5 separate regions of the Homo sapiens genome follow, and all the other regions are linked to region 1. The links are contacts of gene promoters, found by promoter capture Hi-C in blood cells and fetal thymus (Javierre and others, 2016). All regions are on one chromosome and are shown on one strand. Each heading gives the region's core, a stretch centred on a gene start or on the middle of the fragment in contact. The rest is flanking DNA. Distances are from core to core; before and after follow the strand shown. Region 1 holds the start of DAPK1 (death associated protein kinase 1). Region 2 holds the start of CKS2 (CDC28 protein kinase regulatory subunit 2). Region 3 has its middle 17 kb from the start of TUT7. Region 4 has its middle 36 kb from the start of TUT7. Region 5 has its middle 55 kb from the start of TUT7.

Region 1 (5,862 bases), core at 1,423-3,922:
CGATCAGGCCACACTATGCAAATCAAATTAAAATTTATTTTTTTGCTTTTTTCTTCCAGTCCCAAAGGAAAACTCCAAATACCACTCATCTTGCTGAAAACCACAGTAAAGTTATTTAATTCCAGTTAAACCAAATATTTCACCCACACACTCTTAAACTTTAATCTTAAACATATCCATGAAATGTGATGTTTGAAGAGCTTTCCTTATTTACTCACCAGATCATCAATATACAGAGAGCTCTTCCTAAGCACAGGCCCCCATCTATGTTTTCAGTCGATACTAAATATTTAGAGAAATACTCTGTTACAGTAACTTTTAAAAAAATTCTACACTATCATTTGAATTTTTAAAAAAATTTAGTTAAGCTTAGTTTCCATAATTCTCATTAGGCAATCCAGGATGTGGGTGTTTTTTAATTTCCTTTTCATGGAGAAAAAGGAAGCTTTGTATCAGGACATCAGATGTATATGGGAAAATACATATTTCAATGCACATATAAGTAAATACATATTTTGTTTGTTTAAAGATCCTTTTGCCTACTCCACTCACAATGTAAATACACCACAGTCAAATTCCATAAATTCAGTTTTAAATGTATGTATGAAAACTAGGTTTTCTACTAAAGTTGACCAGAGCCCAAAACACTCTGTCTAATACACAGTCAAAGGAAACAGCAATCAGCCCTTAGATGCCCCGAAAGAAACTATTCTTTGTTTACCTAGAAACTGAAAGATTTTACACTGAGAATCACAGCTGCTACAGCAATGGAGGTATGCTCTGAATCCAGATAGCCATATTAGACTCTCATTGATTTGTTAAAAATTTAACATTGTAAATGAAACCAAAGCAACCACCAACACCAACCAGGTAATTAAATTCCTGGTTGGAAGAAGTTTCAAAATCCAAGCCCAATGTCAACATCTGGCAAGTCTCCATTTACCACCTACCAATACTTGCTCAAATTACACTGAAAATTTAGATAGAGGGTAAAGTACTAAGATTTTTAAAACCTATTAATTAGTTTGTACCCTCCGTTTAAATCACACATAAAAGCTAACTCCAATTGCAATTATAATCTTAGTGTTTGTCCTGTTGTCACAGAAGGGCAAGGGCTGACAAGAGTTAGCACGGACAATTAAATCTGATTTTGTCCAGGGGACTGGATCAATATACTGTGCATCATAATCTAGCCCTGAACTGCTGCCTCTCCTCCACCCCCAGGCCCTTGGATCAGGCGGTTTACCGCTGGGTTAGTAACTCTTTTCTCTATGATTTGCGCATCTCCAGAAAGGGCGAGGGAGACGCCTGATTCAAACTGCATTTGTTTACCACCCAATGGCCCCATCGTTATGCATTTCCACAATCCAGGAGGGTACGCTTCTGGTACCCCCTTTACCTGCCAAGTTCCTCGCCGGTGTCGTAGTAATCATCCACGTTTTCCTGCCTGAACACGGTCATGATAAACTGTCACGCCTCACCAAAGCCCAGGGCACTTCAGCTCCGCTTCCCAGACCATCACCACCGCTCCTGCGCCTCCGTAGCCCCCTCATGCATCAGTCTCCAGTCCTTTTGAAGAAAAAAAAAAGGCAATAATAATAGTAAAATGGCAACCCCAAAAGGAAGTAGACCTCCCCGGCGCTAAGACCCCGCTCGCTGAAGACCGGGTCTCCGGAGCTGCCCCTCCTCGCGGGGTGGAGAGGAGCACCCTTTGTTAAAGCTGGGCGGCCAGGGACGCCCCCGACCCCTCAGCCCCGCGCGCGCGTGGGGCCGGGCACCACGGCACCCCGAGGTCGGCGTCCCCAAACGCTGGGCGGTCTGTTGGGATCAGAACCGGCTCCGGAAGTGACTGGCCTCCCCGCCTCCCCTTTCTCTGCACACATGCCCACCCAGCTTTCCCACCTCCAGGGACGCCGCGGAAGAATGAAGCCCTCGCCCAGACGGTACGCGCCTCACTGGGAGCAATCTCTCTCCAGCCTGCGGCAACGGTGGCACCCCCGCGCCACCTCTCGGCTCCCGCGCCTCTCCTAACACCGTGGCCACCCTCTCCCCTTCCCCGAGCGAGGCAGTCCCCAGAGCCACATTCCTGGCGACTCCCTCTCCGTTACCCGGCCGACCCGGCGTGCGGCCGCCCGGGGGAGCAAGGGAGGGAAGGGAGCGGCCCACCGAGGCGCAGCAGTTCGCTCCAGATCCTCGCGCCCCGACACAAAGCGCCTGGTCGGGCCGGCGCCACCTGTTCTCACCCGGCCCGCGGGGCTGGGGAAGCCTCCCGGCTGCGATCGCACTTCTCCCCGAAGCCAAGTTTCCCTCCGCCTTGGCCTTCCCAGTTGCTCGAGGCACTGCCCGGACAAACCCCACCGCGCCCTGGCTGGGAAAGCAAAAGCTGGCGCCGGGGGTCGGGGGGACCGGGGAGCCGCGCCTGGCTACTCACCCGGGCGCCTGGGAGCTCCCCCGGTCCCTCCGGAGCGCTGTCGGAGGCCGACCATAGGCGCCAGCGCCGGAGACTAGCCGGGGCGGCGGCGGGAACACAGCTAGGGAGTGAGTGGGGGGCGCAGATCCCTCCCAGGCGCCGGCCCCAGACCCTGCCGCTGCGAGTTGCCGAGTCCCCTCCGCGGAGGGAACAAAGTCCCCGGCGTTGGCTCGGTCCGGCTGTCCTCCTCACACTCCGAAGCAGCCTCTCGGCTCCTTGCCGCCTTTTGGGCGGAGGGCGGCCGGCAGGCGGCCAATGGGGACCCTGCAAGCGGGCTGGCGGCGCGGCCCACCCACCTCCGAGCTGCCCTGCCAGGCCGGCGCTGCGGGTTCTGCGCGGCGCTCGCTGCTCCTCCCAGCTCCGCGCTCCGGGCTCGCTGGCGCGCTCTACCGCGCACACCCCGCACACACCCACTCGCCCCACACCCACGCCGGCCGGGGAGCCAGTGCGTCCGCCCGGAACGCGGGCGCCCCACCTGTGACACATTGCTAAGCTGCCCTCTGACTGGGTTCTAGGGAAACACGGTTCTTCCGTCCCGAGATGTGTACTGGGATCCCAGCTTGTGCCGGGCACGGTGCTTGGTATGGGAAAATCACATAGAACAAAACAGATTTTTTTAAATCCCTGCCTTCCGGAAACCTGCATTCTGGTGGGACAGATAGATAATAAATATGTAAGCTAATTAATAAGGTAATTTTGGAGGATCAGTCCTACGTTTACCACGAAACAGGTTAATGGAATAGAGAATGGCAGGAAGGGAGCGTACCTCATTAGACTGGGTTCCTCTGCCGGACTGGTGTTGGAGCCGAGGCTTGAAGGCAAGAAGGTTTGCAATCTGAAGAAAGGGTTGAGGTCTCCGAGACCCAAAGAAGCAACAGAGACGCAGAGTTTATTTGCGCTATCCCATATGCTATTGGCTATTGTTGAGCTGAAATGTAGCTAGTCCCAAATTAATTGTGCTGTAAGTGTAAAATACACATTAGAGTCCAAGACAGTATGGATATGAGAATGAAAAATATCTCATGAATATTTTTATATTCATTACACTTTCAAATGATAGTATTTTGGATACGTTGGGTTAAACAAAATATATTATTAAAATTAATTTCACCTGTTTACTTTCTTTTTTTTGAGACGGAGTCTCACTCTGTCGCCAGGCTGGAGTGTAGTGGAGCGTGGCAACCTCCACCTCCAGGGTTCAAGTGATTCTCCTGCCTCGGCCTCCCCAGTAGCTAGGACTACAGTCGCGCGTCACCATGCCCAGCTAATTTTTGTATTTTTAGTAGAGACGGGGTTTCACCGTGTCGACCAGGATGGTCTCCATCTCTTGACCTCGTGATCCGCCCGCCTGGGCCTCCCAAAGTGCTGGGATTACAGGCGTGAGCCACCGCGCCCGGCCTCACCTGTTTACTTTTTAAAAGGTGGCCACTAGAAAATATAACAGTACCTATGTTGCTTGCATGAGATTTCTGAGGACTGTGCTGGTCTACACAAAGATCCCATATCCACTGGAGACCTCTATCCACTTTCTCTACTTCCCACCCCTTGCTCCCACCTAATGTTTGGGTGGAGACGAAGAAGGGTTGATTCCCCACATCCCACTGCTGGAGAACCCCAAACGGTGAAAAGCTCCTAAAGGGAAATCTATTTTACTGCCTAGAATGATGAAAACTGACAGATGAAGAGATTTCCGATCCATACCGTTGTTCAAATCCCCAGGCTTTCTAAACTGAGTTGGTTCAAATCTCTGTGGTTCAACAGAAATTTTCAACTGTGAAGATTTTGGCCTCTTGAAAACAAGGCAAAACAAAACAAAAGAATACCCCTCAGGCCTTATGTCAAATCCTAGTCTTTTTTTTTTTTTTGAGACGGGTTTTCGCTCTTGTGGCCCAGACTGGAGTGCAGTTGTGAAATCTTGGCTCACTGCAAACTCCGCCTCCGCCTCCCGGGTTCAAGCGATTCTCCTGCCTCAGGCTACCCAGTAGCTGGGATTACAGGCATGTGACTATGCCCGGCTAATTTTGTATTTTTAGTAGAGACGTGGTTTCACCATGTTGGTCAGGCTGGTCTTGAACTCCTGACCTCAGGTGATCCTCCCGGCTCGGCCTCCCACAGTGCTGGGATTACAGGCGTGAGCCACTGCGCCCAGCCAAATCCTAGTCTTAAATAACATTGCATTAATGACCCACAGGAAGGGCACACAGGAATCAAGGGGAAGTCCCCAAATTGGGAGATGGTATTAGCTTAAGCAGTGGGCTTGATAATACAAAAGGGTCTTGAGAGGTGAGAAATACAGTCAAAAATAACAACAACAACAAAAAAAGAGTGATTCATCTGGGAAAATGCAAATGAATACATCTGTTGGGAGAAAAAATTTAAAACACAGATGTTTGGGATAAACTTGGAAGGTGTTTATGGATGACTGCCATATGGGTAATATTTATTTTCTGCAAAATAAAAAATATATTGTCCGAGGCAATTAAAAGGACTGAATCTATTTGGCAGCTAGAATGTCTTAACTACCCTAATGGACAATGATGTTCACCGGAGATTATCTGGAGTAGTGAAAAAGAGCATGAAATTTGGAGTCACAAAATTAGATCTAGTATTGGTGGAACCATTTAACAGCTTAATAACCTTGGATGAGTCACTAACCCCCGAGCTTTTTGTGTACACCAATTTAGACAAGCATTTTAGAAAGGGGAAATGTGGTCATTTAAAAACATATTCACAAATTCTTTGACACTCCCCCAATCAAGAGGTGGAGTCTAATTCCCCTCTCAATAAATATTCACCAACCCTATCTGCTTGCTTCTAAGAAAAGGTAGTGGCAGTGGCACAGTGTAATTTATTTCCAAGGTTAGGTCATAAGGCATTAGAGCTTCTGCCTGCTTGCTTCTCTTTCTCTCTCTCTCTCTCTCTCTCTCTTTCCCTCCCTCCCTCTCCCCCTCCACCCACTCTAAAGCCTTCAGCTGTCATGATTACCCTAGGGCTGCCATGTAGAGACATGTGACAAAACCACAGAAAGAACGAGAGATGCCCAGAGAAGCCAGCTGTCCAGCCCCACCCTCACTCCCAGTTGTTTATATCTTCCAGTTCAAGTTCTGTGAGCAAAATCAATGACTTTTAATGTTTTAAGTCATTATTTCAGAGTGGTTTGTTATGTAGCAATAGATTATCTTCTTAAAAAGAAAAATTAAGAAAACTTTTCTCTTAACACATACCAGGTTCCAGACAGATGAAATAATTCTCTCAATTAATCTTTAAATAAATTAGCGGGGTTTTTATTTAATAAATAAATAAATAAATAAGTGGTTATTTCCACTTTACATGTAAACGTCTCAGTTTCATCACCTGTGAAATGAAGATGATTATAGACCCTTACATATTCC
Region 2 (5,862 bases), core at 1,048-3,547, 1.8 Mb before region 1:
ATTATTTCCAAAATCTAACGTTTATTTCAGTTGAAATGCAAAATAGTGCAAGTATTACTAATTTGTAAGGCTGCCCAGAAAAATTAACAGTTTTTCTCTTGTGAAAACAGACTTCCATGATGTGGGGGTGGGGGCACCCACTGTTATGCCCTTAGAAACATTAAGACCCTCACGTAAAAGGACTAGGAAATTAAGTTTGTAATTAAGAAAAATCAAAGAAAGATAGAGATAACTGCACACTGGGAAAAATAAATACTAGCCTTTGAAATTTACATTGCATGCTGCACCATTACATATTAATACAAACCACCCTAGACTCATGCCTTAGTGCTATATTATTACTAGTTTCCCCTTTAAAATTATGTGTGGAAATTACTATCCTGTTTCATAAAGGTTACTGGCTTGGCCAATTAATACCAGCTCTAATTTTTATTGGATTAAAATACATCACTTCAGATATGTAAACTTTCTTCTATACATTACCACACACAAATCATTTGAGTATATTAAAACTAAAAAATCGACCTACTGCCATCAGAAAGAAGTCTGAGAAATAGCTTCATTTATTTTCAATATTATACCCTAAAAGAAACTTGTACCGACCCTTAAATCCTTATCCTAAACACTTGGCACCAGATGTGTTTCAGAATAATTTTCTAGGTTTTAGTAAGATTATTACGGTTTACATTGTGTTCATTATTGGATATCCTCAATAGGGCTCTTGATTAACATCGCATAATTGAACACTGCCAGCATATTACACGAGTATAGTTTATTATTACTATAAGGTTAACACAATCTACTTGAAATTTACCTACAGCCAGAAAAACATGCTATTTTTCTAGCTAGGAATACAAAAGGGTGCAATTACTACTACCCATAGAAATATTCAGTAGTCCTCATGTGAAAACAGACTTCCATGCTACTAGGGAGGGGGAGAAAAAGAGAAACCACCCACTGTTTTGTTCTTTCTTCCTTAAATAGCATTCGGAGAAATCTAACCTACAAAGGCAGCAGACAGAAAACAAGGTCACAATTTGGCCAACGATGGCATGGGCTTTATCTCCCCTAAATCTTGGTAGTATCCCAGAACGCAGCGTTCTAGTCGCTACCTAGTTAAGAAAAAGGGGTTGACTGTTTTCTGAAGCCACGCCCTAAATGAAGTGTCCCGCATACAGTAAGGACAACAAATTTTAAATGTCCCTACTCGCTTTCCCCCAATCTACTTTAATTGGGGGGAAGGGGACAGGGACATTTAAAATTTGTCTAATTTTACTGATCGATTACAGCCACCATGTTCTAGTACGGTGCTTCAGGACTCAAACGCAAAAGTTTCTCAAAGCCCAAAATTTGGCCAGTGTATACTAGCAGAAAATGATGCCCAAAGTCCACTCAAGTTCTTAATCGGCCTTAAAATGAAACTCCTTTAATAATACCCTCAATTGTATGACTGCGGCTAACCTATAATGGCCCAAATCACCATACCCAGTAAACATTTTCGAATCCCCATCAAGCTCATTTTTCGGGGGGTCGCCTCCAAAGCTTATTCTTATACCACTCACTTCAAAAACAAGAAAAAGAAAAGTGTTCCTCTGTGTTAACAGATGAAAATGACCATTTGACCATTCTAAACCACAAACTAGTAAAAGCTGCATCACCCCGTCAGCGACAGGGAAAGTGTGTCACGGTTGCTAAAGGAAAAAGGACGGCACCAGGTGGGTTTTCCTGGACTGGTTCAAAGAACTGGAACTGAGACCAGCTACTGAACGGCCTAATTACTTCGGCCACGGCCGAGAAAAAAGTGACGGGATGGTCACTCCGCGTCGCCGAGGACCCCATGACCCCCAAGTTGCGCCGGTTCCTACCCAGGTACTAAATGCGGCCCGGTGGGCACTCTTCCCTCACCCTCCGCGCACACCGAACAAAGGCCCAACCGGCCCGGCGCGGCCAGGCACCCAACCATGTCCGACTGCGCGGGGCGCCAGGTGGCCGCGACCCCAAACCCCGGCCCTCGCCCTCCGGCCCCGGGCTCCGCCCCCCAGGCCCCGGCCCCCACCCCCGACCCTACTATGCCTGGGTCGCCCCGCCCGCGGGGGCCCCGGCTGAGGGAGCCGGCTCGGGGTCTAAGAAAGGCGCCCACCGGTACTCGTAGTGTTCGTCGAAGTACTTGTCCGAGTAGTAGATCTGCTTGTGGGCCATCCTGCTGGCGCGCTGCAGAAAATGAAACGAGAGCGCGAAGAGCGGGCGCAGCAGACAAAACCACGTCCAGCCCAGGCAACAACTCGCCGGAGACTAACGACCGCAGTCCCAACGATCCGGATTTGAATCCGACAGCCCGCCGCCGATTGGACAGCAGCGCCGACCAATCACCTTCTGCGGAAGTCGGCCGGCTGCCAGCCTATCGTCGCCGCCGCCTCGCAAAGTCCGCTTCCTGGGTCAGCCAATCAGAGATCTGTTGCGAGGTTGCCCGAGGGAAGATAGGTACGTCACGGGGGTGGCAGGGCCCTTAACGGGCAGGGGCGTGGCCAGAGGAGGGCGAAGTCGGGACGTTAAGGGCCGCAGAGCGCGTGCGCAGGAACGTGGAAAGTTCCAGGACACGGAACCGTTGGGACGGAGGACCTGAAGGTGGAGTGAGGTATCACGGGGTTTGGTGATGACGTAGTCGGTCGAGGCCGGAAGCGTGGGCCACAGGGCTTTGAGCGGAAGCTGTCGACCTTGCACGGTGATGGCGCTCCTCGTGATCCCTTGTATCCCCTCAGGCTCGAGCCAGGAGCCTAGGTCCACTTTGAAAAGTAGTAAAAGGCAGAAAGGTTCTGCGGTGTGAGGGGGAGGGCGGCTTCGTGGTCGGCTGGGTCGGGGGAGCGCCGGGCGGCCGCGGCGTGGCTGTGTCCGGGGCTGCCCTGCGCAGCCGGCCGTTTCGCCGCCTGGTGCACTTGCTGAGCTTCCGGCCTGGCCCGTCGCGGGGCTCCTGGCGCCCCCCTAGACGACTGTGTGGAGAATGGAGCCTGCGGAGCCACGCGTAGAGAGAGGCCCGGAGCCGGCGCGGTGGCGGCGGGCGCCAGTGGTCCCAGCCACTCGGGAGGCCGAGGTGGAGTGTCGCTTGAGCCCAGGAGTTCCAGACAGGCCTGAGCAACAGAGCCAGACCCCGTCTCCACAAAGAAAGAAACAAATGGGCCAGAGACCCAGAATGCTTTCTGTAGCCTAACCTAATGTTCAAAACCAGGGCAGACCCAAGCCATGGAAAGCTTGAGGGAATAAAATAATATTCTGCTGCGGCCAAGAATAACAATGCTAATTCCTGGATAAGGGGATTTAAAATGATGTTTAACAACTTCTGGTCTTTTAATATTGACCCAAGTTTAAAAACATGTTCATATAAAAAAGTTACTGGAAGAAATTTATAAATGTAACTGGTGGTTATTTTTAGATGACAGAATTAAAAGTGATCTTTTTGGTATTTTTTCCACAACGAGCACGTGTCATTTTTATGTTAATTTCATTTTATGCGAAATGCTCCAGCGCAGTACAGGCTAGTGGGTTCAGGGTGGCTGTGACTAAGTAATGTAGATGGGGTACCTTAGACAAAGTTTCCAGACTAGAGGCTGGAAGTAAGAGGTCCGGGTGCCCTTTTCCACACTGCAGACCACGGACTTTTCCGGTTTCTGAACAAGTGAGACAGGCCGGCTAAGGACATTTATAATCTCCATGGGTGAGGGCCCCACCCTCATGACCATCTAATCTTGATTACCTCCCGAAGGCCCCACCTCCTAACTTCCTAATACAATCACTTCTTGGGGGAAGAGGGTGTTTGGAATTCCACCCCCCGCCCTTTTTTTTTTTTGGAGACAGTCTCACTCTGCTGCTCAGGCTGGAGTGCAGTGGTGTGATCTTGGCTCACTGCGACCTCCCCCTCCCAGGTTCAAGCCATTCTGCCTCAGCCTCCAGAGCAGCTGGGATTACAGGCCCAGCTAGTTTTTGTATTTTTAGTAGAAACGGGTTTTCATCATTTTGGCCAGGCTGGTCTCGAACTCCTGACCTCAAGTGAACTGCCCGCCTTGGCCTCGCAAAGTGCTGGGATCGTCAGAGGCAAGTGAACCAGAGCACCTTCATCTTAAACAGGAGCTGGGTAAGATGAGCCTAAAACCTACTGGGCTGCATTCCCAGACAGTTAAGGCATTCTAAGTCACAGGATGAAATGGGAGGTCAGCACAAAATACAGGTCATAAAGACCTTGTTGATGAAACAGGTTGCAGCAAAGGAGCCAGCCAAAACCCACCAAAACCAAAATGGCGAAGAGAGTGACTTTGGTCCTCACTGTTACACTCCCACCAGTGCCATGACAGTTTAGAAATGCCATGGCAACATCAGGAAGTTACCCTACATGGTCTAAAAAGGGGAGGCATGAATAATACACCCCTCGTTTAGCATATAAGCAAAAAATAACTATAAAAATGGGCAACCAGCAGCCCTCGGCTGTTCTGTCTATGGAGTAGCCATCCTTTTATTCCTTTACTTTCTTAATAAACTTACTTTCATTTTGCACAGTGGACTCACCCTGAATTCTTTCTTGCACGAGATCCAAGAATTCTCCCTTGGGATCTGGACTGGACCCCTTTCCTGTAACAGAATTACAGGTATGAGCCACAACACCCGGCCTGGAATTTCCACGCATGATTTGGTGGCTGGGAGCAGACACAAACATTCGTTCATACATGATAGAATCCTTCAGGTCTCAGATTAAGCATTTCATCTTCTGAAAGGCCTTCCTTAATCAACTTCTCTACAGAAAGTTCTTCAATTTCCCCATTATGCCCTTGCCACCGACTCCAGTGGGCTTCCCTCCCACTGTCGCAATTGCATGTTTGCTTAGGTGGTGGTTGTCTCCCTATCTGCGCTATAAAATACTCTCTGTTAGTGAGCCAAGACTGTGCCACTGCACTCCAGCCTGGGCGACAGAGCGAGACTCCGTCTCAAAAAAAAAAAAAACAACTCTGTGAAGCTAGTGTAGAGGCCATGTCTGTCTTGTTCACCACGGAGTGCCTAGCACATAGCAGAGTTCCTTGCACATAAGCACACAATAAGAAGTAAATTTTAGGCACAGTATAATAAGAGTAAATAATTAGGTATAATTACTATGATGGCAAAAATGTGAATAAACTGTTAAGGAAAATGGACAAGGAAATTACTTTCTGGCAGAACCTGGGGGAAAAAAACTTCCTGGGAGATATATTTTTAAATAAATGTATAGATGCTCCTTAATTTACAATGGGATTACATCCTGACTAGTCAAAAAAATTTTAAGTTGAACCATTGTAAGTCAAGGACCATCTGCACTGTGAAAAGTTCAAACACATGGAATAATAGAATCAACTCCCATGTACAGGTTGTGCATCTTTAATCTGAAAATCTGAAATGCTCCAAAAGTCCAAAACGTTGAACAACACTGACATGAGCTCAAAGGATATGCTCATTGGAGCACTTCAGATTTCAGATTTTCCTATTAGAGATACTGAACTGGTTAACAAAATGCCCATATTCCAGATTCCAAAAAACCCTGAAACACTTCTGGTCCCAAGTGTTTTGGGTAAGGGATACTCAACTTGTTCCAGTCATTTAGCTTCAGCAATTACCGTTTGCCAATCATGTTTCATCTGTTCCTCTCTAACTTTTTTTTTCTAGAATATTACTGAAGAGATCTCAGATATGTCAGTTCACTCCTAAATAAAACTTTTCAGTGTATCTCTGTGTTTATGGTGTGCATCTCAGGAAAATTTTTTAAAAAATGCATAACCACATCATACTTACGCTTAGACGTCCTTAATACTCTTTGATAGCTGTTTTAGACTCACATTTCCCTGACTG
Region 3 (5,862 bases), core at 1,007-3,506, 1.1 Mb after region 1:
ACTCTAGCCTGGGTGACAGAGCAAGACTCCATCTCAAAACAAACAAAACAAAACAAAACAAAAAACAAAAAAAAATCTTATGGGACACAACAAAAGCAGTATTAAGAGGCAAGTTTATAGCAATAATGCCTACATCTAAAAACTAGAAAGATTTCTAAGATTTCTAATAACGTAATGGCACCTCAAGGAACTAGAAAAGCAAGAACTCAAAATTAGTAGAAGGAAAGAAATAACCAAACCCAAAATTAGTAGAAGGAAAGAAATAATAAGAACAGAGCAGAAATAAACAAAATGGAGACTTAAAAAAAAACACAAAAGATAAATGAAACAAAAATTTGGTTTTTGAAAAGATAAACAAAATAAAAAAACCATTAGCTAGACTAAGAAAAAAAGAGAGAAGATCCAAATAAATAAAATCAAAAGCCAGAAATGAAGATATCACAATGGATACCATAGAAATATAAAGACTCATTAGTGACAACTATGCACAATGATGTGCCAATAAATGAGAAAGCCTGGAGGAAATGGATAAATTCCTGGACACATGCAACCTACTGAGAAGAAATAGAAAACCTGAACAAATCAATAACAAGTGATGAGATTGAATCACTAATAAAAAGTGCTTCAACAAAGAAAAGTCCAGGACCAGATGGCTTCACTGCTGAGTTCTACCAAACCTTTAAAGAATTTTTTTTTTGAAACAGAGTCTTGCTCTGTTGCCCAGGCCTGAGTGCAATGGTGTGATCCCAGCTCACTACAATCTGCCTCTCAGATTCAAGTGATTCTCCTGTCTCAGCTTCCCGAGTAGCTGGGACTACAGACGCATGCCACCACACCCAGCTTATTTTTGTATTTTTGGTAGAGATGGGGTTTTGCCATGTTGGCCAGCCTGGTCTCGAATTCCTGACCTCAGGTGATCCACCCTCCTCAGCTTCCCAAAGTGCTAGGATTACAGGTGTGAGCCACTGCACCCGGCCAAATCTTTAAATGATTAATACCAATTTTTCTCATACTTCAAAATGTTGAAGCAGAGAGAATTCTTCTTAACTCATTCTATGAGGCCAGCATGACTCCAGTTCCAGAATCAACACAATAAACAAAGAAAACTACAGGCCAGTGTCTCTGATGAACACAGACGCAAACATCTTCAACAAAATACTAGCAAACAAAATCCAATAACATATCAAAAAGATAATAAGCAGTGATCACACGGAATGTATTCCAGGAAAGTAAAAATGGTTCAACATATGCATATTAATAAATGTTATATATTGCATCAATAGAATTAAGGACAAAAAGCTTATTATCATCTCAATAGATGCAGAACAAGCTTCTGATAAAACACAACATCCCTTCAAGATGAAAACCCTTAATAAATTAGGTATAGAAAGAAAGTACCTCAGCATAATGAAGGCTATGTAAGACAACCCTCAGCTAACATCTCACTGAATAGGGAAAAGCTAAAAGATTTTCCTCTAAGAATTGGAACAAGACAAAGTTGCCAGCCGGGCATAGTGGCTCACACCTGTAATCTCAGCACTTTGGGAGGCTGAGGCAGGCAGATCACTTGAGCCCAGGAGTTCAAGACCAGCCTGGCCAACATGGCAAAACCCTGTCTCTACTAAAAATACAAAAAATTAGCCAGGTGTGGTGGCGCATCTGTAGTCCCAGCTCCTTGGGAGGCTGAGGCATAAGAATTGCTTGAACCTGGGAGGCAGAGGTTGCAGTGAGCCAAGATTGGGCCACTGCACTCCAGCCTGGGAGTAGATTGAGACTCTATCTCAAAAAAAAAAAAAAAAGGCAAGGTTGCTCACTTTCATCACTCCTATTCAACATAGTACTGGAACTCCTAGCCAGAGCAATCAGGCAAGAAATAAAGGGCATCCAAATGGGAAAGGAGAAAGTCAAATTGTTCCTGTTTGCAGACAACATGATTTTACATATAGAAAAACCTAAAGATGCTACCAAAAAACTTAGCACTGGTAAACAAATTTAGTACAGTTGTAAGATAAAAAACTAATATACAAAAATCAATGGTGCTCCTATATATGAACAATTAAATAGCTGATAAGGAAATCAAGAAGGCAATCCCATTTATGACAGCTATAAAATGAAATAAAATACCTAAGTATAAATTTAACCAAGGAAGCAAAAGACCTCTATGAGGAATACAAAGCACTGATTAAAGAAATTGAAGAGGATACCAAAAAAATGGAAAGACAGCCAGGTGCAGTGGCTCCCTCCTGTAATCCCAGCACTTTGGTAGGCTGAGGCAGGCAGAACACTTGAATCCAGGAGTTCCAGACCAGTCTGGACAACACAGTAAGAACCCATCTCACAAAAACTACAAAAATTAGCTAGGCACGACAGCACATGTCTGTAGTCCCAGCTACTGGAGAAGCTGAAGTGGGAGGATCTCTTGAGCCCAGGAGGGAGAGATTGCAGTGAGCCAAGATTGCACCACTGCACTCCAGCCTCCAGCCTGGGTGACAGAGTGGGACCCCATCTCAAAAAGAAAAAAAGGAAAGATGTCTCAAGCTCATGGACTGAAATAATTAATATTCTTAAAATGACAATACTCTCCCCTAGTAATCTACAGATTAAGTGCAATTGCTATTAAAATAACAATGACCTTCTTCACAGAAATAGAAAAAAAATCCTAAAATTTGTGTGGAACCACAAAAGACCCCAAGTATCCAAAGCAATCCTGAGCAAAAGAAAAAAGCTGGAGTCATCACACTACCAGAACTCAAAATATACTACAAACCTGGAGTAATCAAAACGCATGATACTGGCATGAAACAGACACATAGACCAATAGAACAAAATAGAGAACCCCAAAAGTAGTCCACATATCTACAGCCAACTGATTTTTAACAGAGGTGCCAAGAACACTCATGGGGGAAGGGACAGTCTCTCTAAAAAATGTGTCTAGATAAACTAGATATGCATATAGAGAAGAATGAAACTAGACCCCCACCTCTCACCCTATACAAAAATCTACTGAACATGGATCAAAGACCCAAATGTCAAACCCAAAACAATAATACTGCTAGAAGAAAACATAGAGAAAATGCTTCAGGACATTGGTCTGGGAGAAGATTTTATGAATCAGACCTCAAAAGTATAGGGAAAAAAAGCAAAAATAAGCAAATAGAATTATATCAAACTAAAAAGCTTCTGCACAGCAAAGGAAACAATCAACAGAGTGAAAAGACAACCTACAGAATGAGAGAAAAGATGTGCACACTACTCATCTGACAGGAGATTAATATGCAGAATATACAAAGAACTGAAACATCACAACAGCAAAATAACAAAGAATCTGATTTTAAAATGGGCAAATAATAGAAATAGAAACTTCTCAGAAGAAGATATACAAATGGTCAAATCCAACAAATATATGAAAAATGCTCAATATCACCAGTCATCAGGGAAATGCAAATCAAAACCACAGTGAGGTATTATCTCACCCCAGTTAGGATGACAATTTCAAAAAGACAAAAAACAACAAATGCTGGTGAGGATGCAGAGAAAAGGGAATTTTTCTTTCTTTCTTTCTTTTTTTTTTTTTTTTTAGAGATGGAGTCTCGCTGTGTTGCCCCGGATGGTCTCGAACTCCTGGGCTCAAGTGATCCTCCTGCCTCAACCTCCCAAAGTGCTGGGATTATAGGCATGAGCCACCGCACTTGGCCAAGAAAAGGGAGCTTGTATACACTGTTGGTGAGAATGCAACCCTTACAGCCACTATGGAGAACAGTATGGAGCTCCCTTTAAAAATGACAAATAGGAATGGGCACAGTGCCTCACACCTGTAATCCCAGAACTTTGAGAAGCCGAGGTGGGTGGATCACCTGAGGTCAGGAGTTTGAGATCAGCCTGGCCAACATGGTGAAACCCCGTTTCTACCAAAAATACAAAAATTAGCTGGGCATAGTGATGTGTGCCTGTAATCCCAGCTACTTGAGAGGCTGAGGCAGGATAATCACTTGAACCCAGGAGGCAGAGGTTGCAGGGAGCTGAGATGGCGCCATTGCACTCCAGCTTGGGTGACAAGAGGGAAATTCCGTCTCAAAAAAAAATAAATAGAACTACTGTATGATCCAGCAATCCTACTACTGGGAAGTTATCCAAGGCAAAGGAAATCATTACATAGAAGAGACATTGGCATCCGCCTATTTATTGCAGCGCTATTCACAATAGGCAAGATAAGGAATCAACCTAGGTGTCCAGTAAAATAAACAGATAAAGTAAATGTGGTTTATATACCTCATGAAATACTACGTTCTGGAGGACATACAGGTTAACCCAACAGGAAAATCTCTGCCCTTGTGGTATTTATATTTTAGTGGAAAATAAAATAAAAGACAAGAAATAAATAACAATAATAAATAGCTACATGATGTAGCAGGTAACAAGGTATATATAGCTCTATAAAACTGTCAACCTGAAATAACCAAAAGAATGAGAATTCAGTTTTAATGAGTTTATTCCAGCAAAAAACTGGGAATAGCCATCCTGGAAATACAGACTGCAAAAAAAATGAAGTCAGTGCTCCAAAGTTAAAAGAAATTTAACAGGATCAAAACTGTTCCTATAAACTTTATAAAATTAATCAGTGAAAAAGGGAGATGGAGAAATGAAAACAAACCAACCTTGCAGCACATTCAGCATTAATCATTAGGCCAGCTTGTTCTCTGACCTGTTTCCTCATAGTTGTTTACAACCTACTGCGCTGGAATCACACAAACTCTGTCACAAGATTATACTTCCCCTGAACTGTTCTAGAGATAGCAACTTAAGCATTGTGAAATATTGTTTTCCATTTCAGATATTCTTTCAGATCCTGCATACTGAAACTACTGATGCCAGCTGGTCTGTAGGATTCTATGAGAAGTTGACTCACCAATGAATGAAGTTTCCACATCCTGATGATCTCATCCCCTTGCCACAATGAATCAACAGCCCCAATTTTCCAGCCCCTTGCCCTCCAAAATCTCCTTAAAAACCCCAGTCCAGAACTCCCCGGAGGATATGGATTTGAGGATTCCTCTCGTCTCTCTACTTGGCTGCCCTGCAATCATTAAACTCTTTCTCTGCTGCAAACCATGCTGTCTCAGTGTATTGGTCTATTACTATGCAGTAGGCATATGATCTTGGCATACCTGTAACAAGATTGTAACATTTTCTTTGTTGAAATTTATTACTGGGCATGGAGGCTCACCCCTGTAATCCCAGCACTTTGGGAGGCAGAGGTGGGTAGATCACCTGAGGTCAAGGGTCTGAGAACAGCCTGGCCAACATCATGACATCCCATCTCTACTAAAAATCCAGAAAAATTAACCAGGCATGGTGGTGGGTGCCTCTAATCTCAGCTATTTGGGAGGCTGAGGCAGGAGAAACACTTGAACCTGGGAGGCAGAGGCTGCAGTGGGTGAGATTGTGCCATTGCACTCCAGCCTGGGCAACAAGAGTGAAACTTTGTCTCGAGAGAAAGAAAGAAAAAGAAGGAAAGAAAGAAAGAGAGAGAGAGAGAGAAAGAAGGAAGGAAGGAAGGAAAGAAAGGAAAGAAGGAAGGAAGCAGGAAGGAAGGAAGGAAGGAAAGAAGGAAGGAAGGAAAGAAATAAATTTATTTTTATGTATTTTTTTTTGAAACAGGATCTCGCTCTGTCACCCAGTCTGGAGTTCAGTGGCATGATCAGGCTCACTGCAGCCTTGACTTCCCAGGTTCAAGTGATCCTCCTACCTCAGCTACCCAAAGTGGGACTACAGGTGCATGACACCATGCCTGGCTAATTTTTGTATTGTTTGCAGTTATGGGGTTTCGCCATGTTGCCCAGGCTGGTCTAGAACCCCTGGACT
Region 4 (5,862 bases), core at 2,354-4,853, 1.1 Mb after region 1:
TAAAATTTTTTTTTTGTTGTGTCTCTACCAGGCTTTGGTATCGGGATGATATTAGTCTCATAAAATGAGTTAGGGAGGATTCCCTCTTTTTCTATTCATTGGAATAGTTTCAGAAGGAATGGTACCAGTTCCTCCTTGTACCTCTGGTAGAATTCGGCTGTGAATCTGTCTGATCCTTGACTTTTTATGGTTGGTAGGCTATTAATTATTGCCTCAATTTCAGAAACTGTTATTGGTCTATTCAGAGATTCAACTTCTTCCTGGTTTAGTCTTGGGAGGGTGTATGTGTCCAGGAATTTATCCATTTCTTCTAGATTTTCTAGTTTGTTTCCATAGAGGTGTTTATAGTATTCTCTGATGGTAGTTTGTATTTCTGTGAGAACAGTGGTGATATCCCCTTTATCATTTTTTATTGCATCTATTTGATTCTTCTCTCTTTTCTTCCTTATTTTTCTTGCTAGCGATCTATCAATTTTGTTGATCTTTTCAAAAAACCAGCTTCTGGATTCATTGATTTTTTTAAGGGGTTTTATTTGTCTCTATCTCCTTCGGTTCTGCTCTGATCTTAGTTATTTCTTGCCTTCGGCTAGCTTTTGAATGTGTTTGCTCTTGTTTCTCTAGTTCTTTTAATTGTGATGTTAGGGTGTCAATTTTAGATCTTTCCTGCTTTCTCTTGTGGGCATTTAGTGCTATAAATTTCCCTCTACACACTGCTTTAAATGTGTCCCAGAGATTCTGGTACATTGTGTCTTTGTTCTCATTGGTTTCAAAGAACATCTTTATTTCTGCCTTCATTTCGTTATGTACCCAGTAGTCATTCAGGAGCAGGTTGTTCAGTTTCCATGTAGTTGTGCAGTTTTTAGTGAGTTTCTTAATCCTGGGTTCTAATTTGATTGCACTGTGGTCTGAGAGACATTTTCTTGTGACTTCTCTTCTTTTACGTTTGCTGTGGAGTATTTTACTACCAATTATGTGGTCAATTTTAGAATAAGTGCGATGCGGTGCTGAGAAGAAAGTATATTCTGTTGATTTGGGGTGGAGAGTTCTGTAGATGTCTATTAGGTCCACTTGGTCCAGAGCTGAGTTCAAGTCCTGGATATCCTTGTTAACCTCCTGTCTCATTGATCTGTCTAATACTGACAGTGGGTGTTAAATTCTCCCATTATTATTGTGTGGGAGTCTAAGTCTGTTTGTAGGTCTCTAAGGACTTGCTTTATGAATCTGGGTGCTCCTGTATTGGGTGATATATATTTAGGATAGTTAGGTCTTCTTGGTGAATTGATCCCTTTACCATTATGTAATGGCCTTCTTTGTCACATTTCATCTTTATTGGCTTAAAGTCTGTTTTATCAGAGACTAGGATTGCAACCCCTGCTTTTTTTTGCTCACTTGCTTAGTAGATCTTCCTCCATCCCTTTATTTTGAGCCTATGTGCATCTTTGCACGTGAGATGGGTCTCCTGAATACAGCACACTGATGGGTCTTGACTCTATCCAATTTGCCAGTCTGTGTCTTTTAATTGGGACATTTAGCCCATTTACATTTAAGGTTAATGTTGTTATGTTTGAATCTGATCCTGTCATTATGATGTTAGCTGGTTATTTTGCTCGTTAGTTGATGCAGTTTCTTCCCAACATCGATGGTCTTTACCATTTGGCTTGTTTTGCAGTGGCTGGTACCAGTTGTTCCTTTCCATGTTTAGTGCTTCCTTCATGAGCTCTTGTAAGGCAGGCCTGGTGGTGACAAAATCTCTCAGCATTTGCTTGTCTGTAAAGGATTTTATTTCTCCTTCACTTATGAAGCTTAGTTTGGCTGGATATGAGATTCTGGGTTGAAAATTCTTTTCTTTAAAAATGTTGAATATTGGCCCCCACTTTCTTCTGGCTTGTAAGGTTTTTGTTGAGCGATCCACTGTTAGTCTGATGGGCTTGCCTTTGTAGGTAACCTGCCCTTTCTTTCTGGCTGCCCTTAACATCTTTTCCTTCATTTCAACATTGGTGAATCTGACAATTATGTGTCTTGGGGTTGCTCTTCTCAAGGAGTATCTTTGTGTGTTCTCTGTGTTTCCTGAAATTGAATGTTGCCCACCTTGCTAGGTTGGGGAAGTTCTCCTGGACAATATCCTGAAGAGTGTTTTCTAACTTGGTTCCATTCTCCCTATCACTTTCTGGTATACCAATCAACGTATATTTGATCTTTTCACATAGTCCCATATTTCTTGGAGGCTTTGTTTATTTCTTTTCACTCCTTTTTCTCTAATCTTGTCTTCTCACTTTATTTCATTAATTTGATCTTCAATCACTGATATCCTTTCTTCCACTTGATCAAATCGGCTATTGAAGCTTGTGCATGCGTCACGAAGTTCTCATGCCATGGTTTTCAGCTCCATCAGGTCATTTAAGGTCTTCTCTACACCGTTTATTCTTGTTAGCCATTCATCTAACCTTTTTTCAAGGTTTTTAGCTTCCTTGCGATGGGTTAGAACATGCTCCTTTAGCTTAGAGAAGTTTGTTATTACTGACCTTCTGAAGCCTACTTCTGTCAACTCGTCAAACTCATTCTCCATCCAGTTTTGTTCCCTTGCTGGCGAGGAGCTGCAATCTTTTGGAGGAGAAGACTCCTCCAAAACACAGAGAAAACTCTGTGTTTTGGAATTTTCAGCTTTTCTGCTCTGGTTTCTCCCCAACTTTGTAGTTTTATCTACCTTTGGTCTTTGATGTTGGTGACCTACAGATGGGGTTTTGGTGTGGATGTCCTTTTTGTTGATGTTGATGCTATTCCTTTCTGTTTGTTAGTTTTCCTTCTAACAGTCAGGCCCCTCAACTGCAGGTCTGTTGGAGTTTACTGGAGGTCCACTCCAGACCCTGTTTGCCTGGGTATAGCCAGCGGAGGCTGCAGAACTGAAAATATTGCTGCCTGATCCTTCCTCTGGAAGCTTCGTCCCAGAGGGGCACCTGCCTGTTTGACATGTCTGTCAGCCCCTACCGGGAGGTATTTCCCAGTCACGCTACACAGGGGTTAGGGACCTGCTTGAGGAGGCAGTCTGTCCATTCTCAGAGTTCGAACACCATGCAGAGAGAACCACTGCTCTCTTCAGAGCTGTCAGACAGGGATGTTTAAGTCTGCAGAAGCTTTCTCTACTGCCTTTTGATGTACTAGTCCCTGTTCCCATAGGGGGAATCTATAGAGGCAGTAGGCCTTGCTGAGCTGTGGTGGGCTCTGCCCAGTTTGTGCTTCCTGTCACTTTGTTTACACTGTGAGCTACTCAAGCCTCAGCAATGGCAGATGCCCCTCCCCACTGGTCAAGCTGCCGCATCACAAGTCAACCTTAGACTGCCATTCTAGCAGTGAGCAAGGCTTCGTGGGCGTGGGACCTGCCAAGCCAGGCACAGGAGGGTATCTCCTGGTCTGCCGGTTGCTAAGACTGTGGGAAAAGTGCAGTATTTGGTCTGGAGTGTACCATTTCTCCAGGTACAGTCTGTCACAGCTTCCCTTGGCTAGGAAGGGGAAATCCCCTGACCCCTTGTGCTTCCTGGGTGAGGTGACCCCACCCTGCTTCAGCTAATCCTCCATGGGCTGCACCCACTCTCCAACCAGTCCCAGTGAAATGAACCAGGTACCTCAGTTGGAAATGGAAAAATCACCCTTCTTCCGCGTCGATCTCGCTGGGAGCTGCAGACCAGAGCTGTTCCTATTTGGCCACCTTGGAAGTGACCAAAAAAAAAAAAACGGTAGCTTTTTTGATACATTTGGCAACCATGCAGTTAGAGCAGCACAGCACAAGGACTAATTATGTTACACTCTTAATTTCCCTCTTATGACTCAACCCCCTCCTTTTTTGGCCTTCTTTTTCCAGTTCCTCTTATTTTTCTTAATGTCCAAATGTTAGACAGCATCACTGTTAAATCCTGAGCATTTTCTCATCTCTGTCTTAGACCTAGTACTTCCTAAAGTTCAGTCAGATAATTATCAACTTCATGATTTTTGCCATCTCTGGATAATTATTTACTTATTAATAATTTTCTGTAAATAAATTTGACTTTAAAAAATTTATACATTTTAAAAGAAAGCTTTATATCACAACTCTAATTTAAAATCCAGTTTCAAAAATAGAAGATAAATCTAAACATAAAAACAAAAACCACAAAATATATAATTTAACTTTTTACTTAAATTTCAAATAATCAATAAGAACAAATCATTATAAATACAAAAATTTATAAAAATGCACACCCTAATGAGAAAAATTGAAAAAATTGAATTGTTCATGATTAATTAAAAACAATAATGTTTGGCTTCATGTTCTTTGACTCTTGCTTACAGTTAAGGAAACCAAAGCCCACGAGGGAAAACAACTTGCCCAAGATCAAAGCAAAATGGAGGCAGAGCTGGAACCATGGTCTTGAGACTACTGAGTCCCAGTTGCAGATGGTGATCACACAATCCAGAAAGGAACAGTAGCTCTTTGAGGTATGAGGATTCAGTCAGGTGACAGGAGCTTGGCGCATGGCGTAGTAAAAAAATATATAAACGTTGAAGTCAGAAAGACCTTGGTGAAGTCTCACATAGACCAGTAAAATCATATTGCCATCTGCCTGTGATTCTACCTCTTTAAGCCTTTGTTTTCTTTTCTTTTCTTTTTTTTTTTTTTGAGACAGAGTCTCACTCTGTCACCCAGGCTGGCGTGCGGTGGCACAATCTCAAGTCACTATGACCTCCACCTCCTGGGTTCAAGCAATTCTCCTGTCTCAGACTCCTGAGTAGCTAGGACTACAGGCACCCACCACCACGCCTGGCTAATTTTTGTACTTTTAGTAGAGATGGGGTTTCACCATATTGTTTAGGCTGGTCTCAAACTCCTGACTTCAGGTGATCTGCCCACCTCGGCCTCCCAAAGTGCTGAGATTACAATTGTGAGCCACCGCACCCGGTCTAAGCCTTCATTTTCTAGTATAACTCACAAATTGTATAATTTTGAGAAGACTATCAGACATATATACTTAGTTTTCAGCCCAGTGGTTATCCAATCAGTAGAAATTTCTTTCCATCCTCCCCTGTCTTTATCACCCACACAGCTCAGATCTGCCCAACACCAGCTCTATTTCCTTTTGAAGGAGATACAGATTCTCTAAAGAATCTGTATTTCTTTCCATCATATCTCTGTGTCCAGGGCTAGGAGAGGGACCTCCATCTGTGCACAGCTGATTGATAAGGTGGGAGGCAGCAGTTTCTTGGCCTCTGCTGCAGGGTGAGTCTTTAAAGATGAAGATAGCCTAGAGATGCGTCTGAAAGCCAGAGGATAGCCCCAGCTTTGAGCAGTGATGGGTGATCTACAGGCTCTGTGGAAGTAGCCCTGTGGCCCAAGAATGGACTCAGCTTCCAGATCTAGTGAATTCTCGGAGACGTTTAGAAAAGTCTAACCCTGGGCAAGCCCTGAGGTCCAGTCCATGGTTAGCAAGAAGTCTATAGCATTTGATGAGTGTGGAGAGAAGAGAGCTATTCCCATGGAGACAGTTTGAAAGGCATAGCTGTGGGATCTAAGAAACAGCTGGGAGTTGGGTATTCAATGTCCACAGAAAAAAACATGGCTGAGACTTAGAAGTGGGGAGAGGAGGGAAAGACAGGGTGGCTGGTCTCCATGGCAACAGGAAGGAAAGCAGAACTTCCACCAATCACTTTGGGGGTGAGATTAGTTGAGGGCAAATTGTAAAGCAGGTGACCCATGCCCAGCATGGAATCGGGGGAAGTAGATCACTTAATGGAAACGTAGGATGGTTTCAGCATTGTAAAAATAACAGCAGGGAATGGTCAAAAAGGGAAAGCCAAAATTGGAACTTTCAGGCATACTTGAGATTTATGTGT
Region 5 (5,862 bases), core at 1,286-3,785, 1.1 Mb after region 1:
AGCTCAGACTGTAGGCATGCACCACCGCACCCAGGTAAATGTTCTATTTTTTGTAGAGAAAGGGTCTCACTTTGTTGCCTAAGCTGGTCTCAAACTCTTGGCCTCAAGCAATCATCCTTGGCCTCTCAAAGTGCTGGGATTATAAGCGTGAGCCACCTCACACGGCCCTGTCCTTTCCTAAAACAAGTTATTCATTTGTAAAATTATCACTTGAAGAATTTTCTCCATAAACTTTTTGTAAAGCATCAGTGATGTTACCATTCTTCCACCCAAGCTTCACCACAAATGTGATGTCTGTTCTTGCTTGAATTTTAGCAGAATCCATGTTTCTCTTATAAGGACTCTTTTCAAACGGATGCATTATCCTCCTTAGTGCCTCAAACTAGACCCTGTTCAGATATATTATAATAAATTAGTACAAGTTTATTTGCTGTAAAAAAAGAATTTTAAATCCATGCACAGTTTTTTCACAATACATATTTTTCATGGACTTTTTGAAGACCCCCTTATATTTGCGGTGTTAGTTTCGCTTTGTGACTGACATCTTTTCTTGTGGGCACAGCACATTTTCATTCACAGGCTACTCCCTGACCTTTGACTCATGATTCCCTCTGGGGAGATGAGCACTATCAGTTATTTGAAGTCTTTGAAATATGATTTGAAATCATATTTCCACTCAAATAAACATTGCTTCTGTTTCTCAAAAACAGAGAGATGGAGAGGAATCATGCAACACTAGATATTACATGAGTAGACATTACAGCACATTATCTGTCCATCAAAAACAGAAATACCAATAGGAACCATGTAATGTTAGAATCAAATGAATTTTTAGAAACCATAAAGCAAACCAGATAAGCTCTTGATTCTCAATTTCAGGCTAAATCTTAAAAATAATATTCTAAAGCAAGAAAAGCAGTTGTAAAGGTTGTTTTGTTTCCTTCTATTTAATATCTAGTTAAAATCTCCTATTTCCTTACATTTTCCTCCTTGTAAATTATACTAAATGTCTTTTCAATCCTTGGCTAAAACAGATAAACTGATAACTTGGAATTTTCTACTCACAGTATAATGAAGAACTCTAAAGAACTCATTTAAAAAATTGGGAATAAGAAGATTACATGAGATGATATCAAAATCTTTACAGGGGGCTATAAAAAGGAAAAGTTTAAGGAAGACAGGTTCCCATCTGAAATTGGAAAAATATCTTTGTGAGGCATTAGAGGAATCTCAGTTCACTACATAAAAATCAAGAAGAGTTTTTCTCCAGTATGAATGGGTGAGTTTGCTTTGGATGGAGATATCAAGGCTGATGTGAAAACCTGGCCCATGAAGCATGCTTATAAAATGATGATGCTGATTCCACACTTGGCCCACACAAGATTGTCTCGGTAGCCTGATGCTAACATTGCTTTCAGATTATACATCATAATTTTTCAAGCACCCACATCTTGGTTACCTAATTTGGTCCTCCTGAAATGCCTATAGTGTAGATGAGACCAGGATTGTCCTTGACTGTACTGTTTTGTGGCTTTTGAGTAGGGAAGCTGGACTCATCTTGTTTTCCTCTCCATCTTAGCCTCCCAGTGTCATGGACATGGTAGCTATGCCAGCACAGGTCCAGGGGTCTCTCCCGCCTTCCCCCAGACCACTGCACATCCTGGGGCACGTTTTACACCACTGCAAATCCTAGGAGGTGAATGTGGCCGGGGCCCTAATCTCAGCTGGAGGCTTCTAGCAGGTTTGATGGAAACAGCTTGCAGCTCTGAGCACAGCTTGATCACCATCTGTGCCCATCAGCAAGTTAAATAAACTCCCTGGGCTTCACATTCCTCTTTTGTAAAATGAGCACATAGATTTGCATGATCTTTAAGGCAGTGGATTCCAGAAGATGAGTCCATGGATCAGTTTGAAAAAAAAAAAAATTAATTGGCCGGGTGATGTGGCTCACGCCTGTAATCCCAGCACTCTGGGAGGCCAAAGCGGGTGGATCACGAGGTCAGGAGATCGAGACCATCCTGGCTAATGCTGTGAAACCCTGTCTCTACTAAAAATACAAAAAATTAGCTGCACGTGGTCGCGGGCGCCTGTAGTCCCAGCTACTCAAGAGGCTGAGGCAGGAGAATGGCGTGAACCCGGGAGGCAGAGCTTGCAGTGAGCCAAGATCGCGCCACTGCACTCCAGCCTGGGCGACAGAGCGAGACTCCATCTCAAAGAAAAAAAGAATTAATTTTGGGAATTCACATGGGCTTGCCAACTCTTTGTTGTTTGAAATACATTAAAGGGCCAGGAGTGGTGGCTCATGTCTGTAATCCCTGCACTTTGGGAGGCCGAGGTTGGCAGATCACTTGAGGTCAGGAGTTCAAGACCAGCATGGCCAACAGGGTGAAACCCCATCTCTACTAAAAATACAAAAATGAGCTGGGCATGGTGGCGGGCACCTGAAATCCCAGCTACTCAGGAGGCTGAGGCAGGAGAATTGCTTGAACCCGGGAAATGGAGGTGGCAGTGAGCCAAGATTGCACCAGTGTACTCCAGCCTGGGCTACAGAGCAAGACTCCATCTCAAAAAAAAAGAAAAAGAAAAAAAGAAATACATTAAAGATAACAACTCTGATCATCCCTCCTCCCACGCTGGTTCCAACCAGTGGAGAATTGACACTGAGATCCAGATGAAGATCAAAAAAAAACAACTTTATTAGTGGATTGGTCAAGTGCCTAATGCCTGCAGAGTAACAGAGGGTCTCTTAAGGCAGACTAAGGAGACACTAGCTGGCATCTCTCCATCAGTGAGATTTCATAAACACACCTGAAGCCAGTGGGCAGAGTAATCTCAGAGCAGTGCCCCTTCCACCTCCACAAAGCTGAGCCCTACTCCCATCCCATGCTTCTCCTTGTGTCTGCTTCTGGGATCTGTAAAATGGGCAGCTCAGCTATTGCCCCAGAAGGCTCTGAAATCAGTAAGGACAGAATTAAGATAACTTTGCTGGGCATGATGGTATATGCCTGTAGTCCTAGCTACTCAGGAGGCTGAGGTGGGAAGATCACTTGAGCCCTGGAGTTCGAGACCAGCTGGGGCAACATAGCAAGACTCTGTCTCTAAAAACATAAAATGAAATAAAATAAAATGGAAAAAAAGAAAGAAGAAAACTTCAAGACTGCACACACTGAAAGCCAAAATTCATTGCTTTTTAAATTTTCCATCTCCAATTATATTCCACCTAATACCCAACATAACTCATGACATTTTATAATAAACACCACATGAAAGTCTAAAATGTTCCAAATAAGGCAAAGCCAACCACACAAAAATGCCCAAATTTACATAAACTCACATCAGTGATTACAGTTTCAAAGAGAGGTTGAAGTCTAAAGATGAAATCCTTTGACTTTGGTAAATTAAAGGCTGAAGACATTAAGGTTCAACATTTTCTCTCACTTGATTTGGGGTATAGTAGAAACTTCTCAAGAACATAATCCTGACAGCAAAACTGTCTCTTTCGTAAGTGCTACAGACAGAGGATTGTAGGATCCCACCAGCACAAAAGGCACTTTCAAGAGCAAGCCAATAGTTTGAGGTACAATCCACAAGCGAGCTTCCAATGGGAGGGATCTTAAGGGAGCAGCCACTGAAATAGTGCCCAGGGACTGGGTAGGCACCCCATACCTCTTTCTTGGTTGCAATAGCTGTTTCTCAGCAGAGATACAGAATTTACCCTGGGCCTCTGTGCACTCTCCAGCTCTGTGCTCAGGAAGATGCTAGAATTGCCCACAAAACTTTAGGCCATTCCCAGAACTATTCATATTAATGTGGCAGGTACTGGCTACCATGCTGAGGGTTTGTCTCAAATCCCTTAGAGAACAAACAGTTAAATACATGCAATAGAATATGACTCAGTCTTAAAAAGGGAGGACATTCTGACACATGCTACAACATTGATGAACCCTGAGGACTTAGGCTAAGCGAAATAAGCCAGATACAGAAAGATAAATACTGCACAATTCCACTTACATGAGGAATCTGGAGCAGTTAAATTCATAGAGAAGTCTGGGTGCAGTGGTATTCACCTATAACCCTAGCACCTTGGGAGGCAGAGGCAGGCAGATTGCTCAAGCTCAGGAGTTTGAGACCAGCCTGGGTGACATGGTAAGACCTCACCTCTACAAAAAATACAAAAATTTAGCTGGGCATAGTGGCACATGCCTATAGTCCCTGCTACTTAGAAGGCTAAGATGAGAAGATCACTTGTGGCCAGAGGTTGAGGGTGCGGTGAGCCAAGATCGTGCCACTGCACTCCAGCCTGGGCAAAAGAGTGAAACCTGTCTCAAAAAAAAAACAAAAAAATCATAAAGACATGCAGAATGGTTGTCAGGAACTGGGAGGAGATGAGAATGGGGAGTTATTGTTTAATGGGCATAGAGTTTCAGTTTGGATAGTAGCAATGATAGCATAACAATGTGAATGTACTTAATGCCATTAAACTGTGGATTTAAAAATGATTAACGTGGTAAATTTTATGTTATGTGTATTTTACCAGCATTTAACACTTTAATCTTCAATAAAAAAAAAATCCTTCTTAGCCCAGCTGTGGAATTAAGAACACTTATGATTCTTTGGATAACTCTAAGCTATCCAATGCTGGCAGGTTGCAATGAAATTCAAGGCTTCTTGAGGCTCTTTTAGTGAATACCGCAGCTTACCCAGCACCCCCCTGCATTCCCCATGTTGATCCATGGAGGAAAGATCTTCCTCCCCGCACACTTCTACCTCTAGACCAATGCGGGGAGGAAAGCTTCCACTCCACTTCCCTGCCATCCAAAAGGAAGAGAAGTACTGAATCTGATGAGTGAGGGCTGGCATCACAGTGCATGGTTCCCCAGTGGGCAAGGTACAGAGTCAGTGTTACCTGTAAATGTCTTTATCTTTGTGTAGCCAGCAAGCTGAGCAGGGCTGACCTCAGCAAATCTGTAATTCACTTTCTGCTCCACCCCCTCTGCCCGTGACCAGGAATGAGTCAGAAGGACCTTGTAGAAGGGACCTGTCTGAATCTGGTTTCAGGGGAGAAAGTAGAAGGCTGCCCTCAGGCCTGCCAACTAAAAGTCCATATCGCAGCTTCACGAGAGCTGGCCTGGAAGCAGGGCTTAACTAGGTCAAAAATGGGACTTTGATTCCCATCTGGATGTCAGTTTCTTGAGGTGCTTCTCCTCTGGCAGAAAAGGGGGCAGAAATGAGAGGGTAAAGGAGAATGGTCTTATTCCCCTAAAATCACCATGAAATGGTCTTTTAAAAATAAGAAAAGTAGGACACATGTTCTAAAGAAAAAAAATTTTTTCAACTGAACACATTTAGCTTTATACAAAGCTCACCTTGTTTCTTTGTCTCTCATTTTGTCCAAATTGTTAATTTCATAATTATCACTAGTCCATGAACCTGCATTTGAGAAATCTTTGAGAAGCATTCCTCTGAAGTACGTTTTTGCTCTCAAAGTCTGTGACATAAATAACTATCACTTCTGCTTCCATCACCCCTCCCAGAACCCGTCATTGAAAGAAGACTAGAGCAGAAACTACGGTTTAGTGCCTTACAGAATGCTTTGTACAAATAAATACTCAACAAATTTTTAAAATACAGCCTGCCCCCTGTGTCGGGGTGACTCAGGAACCCATCTGACCTAAAGTTCCATCTGTTTTTCTGAATCCAGAGTCCAGACACTCACGTGCAGATGAAAAAAAGTATCAGGAGTGGCACATTCCTGAGCCACACTGCACCAAAGATGATTTCACAATAGGTACCAGGTTTACTTTTGTTTCATGAGTCTGCCTGCAAATTCAAGTTTCTCTGGTTCATCTCCTTTGCATTAGT

Evidence for each region. Contacts are between HindIII fragments. The CHiCAGO score rates a contact against its expected background, and 5 or more counts as called.
Region 2: the fragment with the promoter of CKS2 here is called in contact with the fragment with the promoter of DAPK1 in region 1 in 1 of 17 cell types (fetal thymus); the score reaches 12.0 in fetal thymus.
Region 3: a contact is called between a fragment that was not itself captured here and the fragment with the promoter of DAPK1 in region 1, in 1 of 17 cell types (M1 macrophages). The highest score is 6.2, in M1 macrophages.
Region 4: a fragment that was not itself captured here is called in contact with the fragment with the promoter of DAPK1 in region 1 in 6 of 17 cell types (M1 macrophages, M0 macrophages, megakaryocytes and 3 more); the score reaches 9.2 in M1 macrophages.
Region 5: a contact is called between a fragment that was not itself captured here and the fragment with the promoter of DAPK1 in region 1, in 3 of 17 cell types (M0 macrophages, M1 macrophages and megakaryocytes). The highest score is 10.9, in M0 macrophages.

Annotation. Positions count from the first base shown.
Region 1 is chr9:87,494,677-87,500,538 of GRCh38, reverse strand. DAPK1 (death associated protein kinase 1) reads right to left here and starts at 2,672. Exons shown (of 26, transcript NM_004938.4): 1 at 2,432-2,672; 2 at 1,400-1,569. The coding sequence starts at 1,461. RefSeq lists silencers at 1,714-1,823, 2,034-2,223, 2,594-2,943, 2,964-3,023 and an enhancer at 1,566-2,323. The HindIII fragment of the contact is 10,886 bases long and covers 448-5,862 here.
Region 2 is chr9:89,307,630-89,313,491 of GRCh38, reverse strand. It overlaps CKS2 (CDC28 protein kinase regulatory subunit 2), which reads right to left and starts at 2,297. Exons shown (of 3, transcript NM_001827.3): 1 at 2,141-2,297. The coding sequence starts at 2,199. It overlaps MIR3153 (microRNA 3153), which reads right to left and starts at 1,267; the gene lies at 1,186-1,267. LOC105376136 (a long non-coding RNA gene) reads left to right here and starts at 2,690. Exons shown (of 3, transcript XR_930101.4): 1 at 2,690-4,126; 2 at 4,546-4,634. RefSeq lists enhancers at 1,742-1,791, 2,462-2,751 and a silencer at 2,762-2,991. The HindIII fragment of the contact is 1,703 bases long and covers 1,545-3,247 here.
Region 3 is chr9:86,368,288-86,374,149 of GRCh38, reverse strand. No RefSeq gene overlaps it. Among named protein-coding and RNA genes, the nearest start is that of TUT7, 17 kb to the right of the region's middle. The HindIII fragment of the contact is 1,847 bases long and covers 1,333-3,179 here.
Region 4 is chr9:86,387,820-86,393,681 of GRCh38, reverse strand. No RefSeq gene overlaps it. Among named protein-coding and RNA genes, the nearest start is that of TUT7, 36 kb to the right of the region's middle. The HindIII fragment of the contact is 939 bases long and covers 3,134-4,072 here.
Region 5 is chr9:86,406,390-86,412,251 of GRCh38, reverse strand. No RefSeq gene overlaps it. Among named protein-coding and RNA genes, the nearest start is that of TUT7, 55 kb to the right of the region's middle. RefSeq lists an enhancer at 1,447-2,044. The HindIII fragment of the contact is 4,518 bases long and covers 277-4,794 here.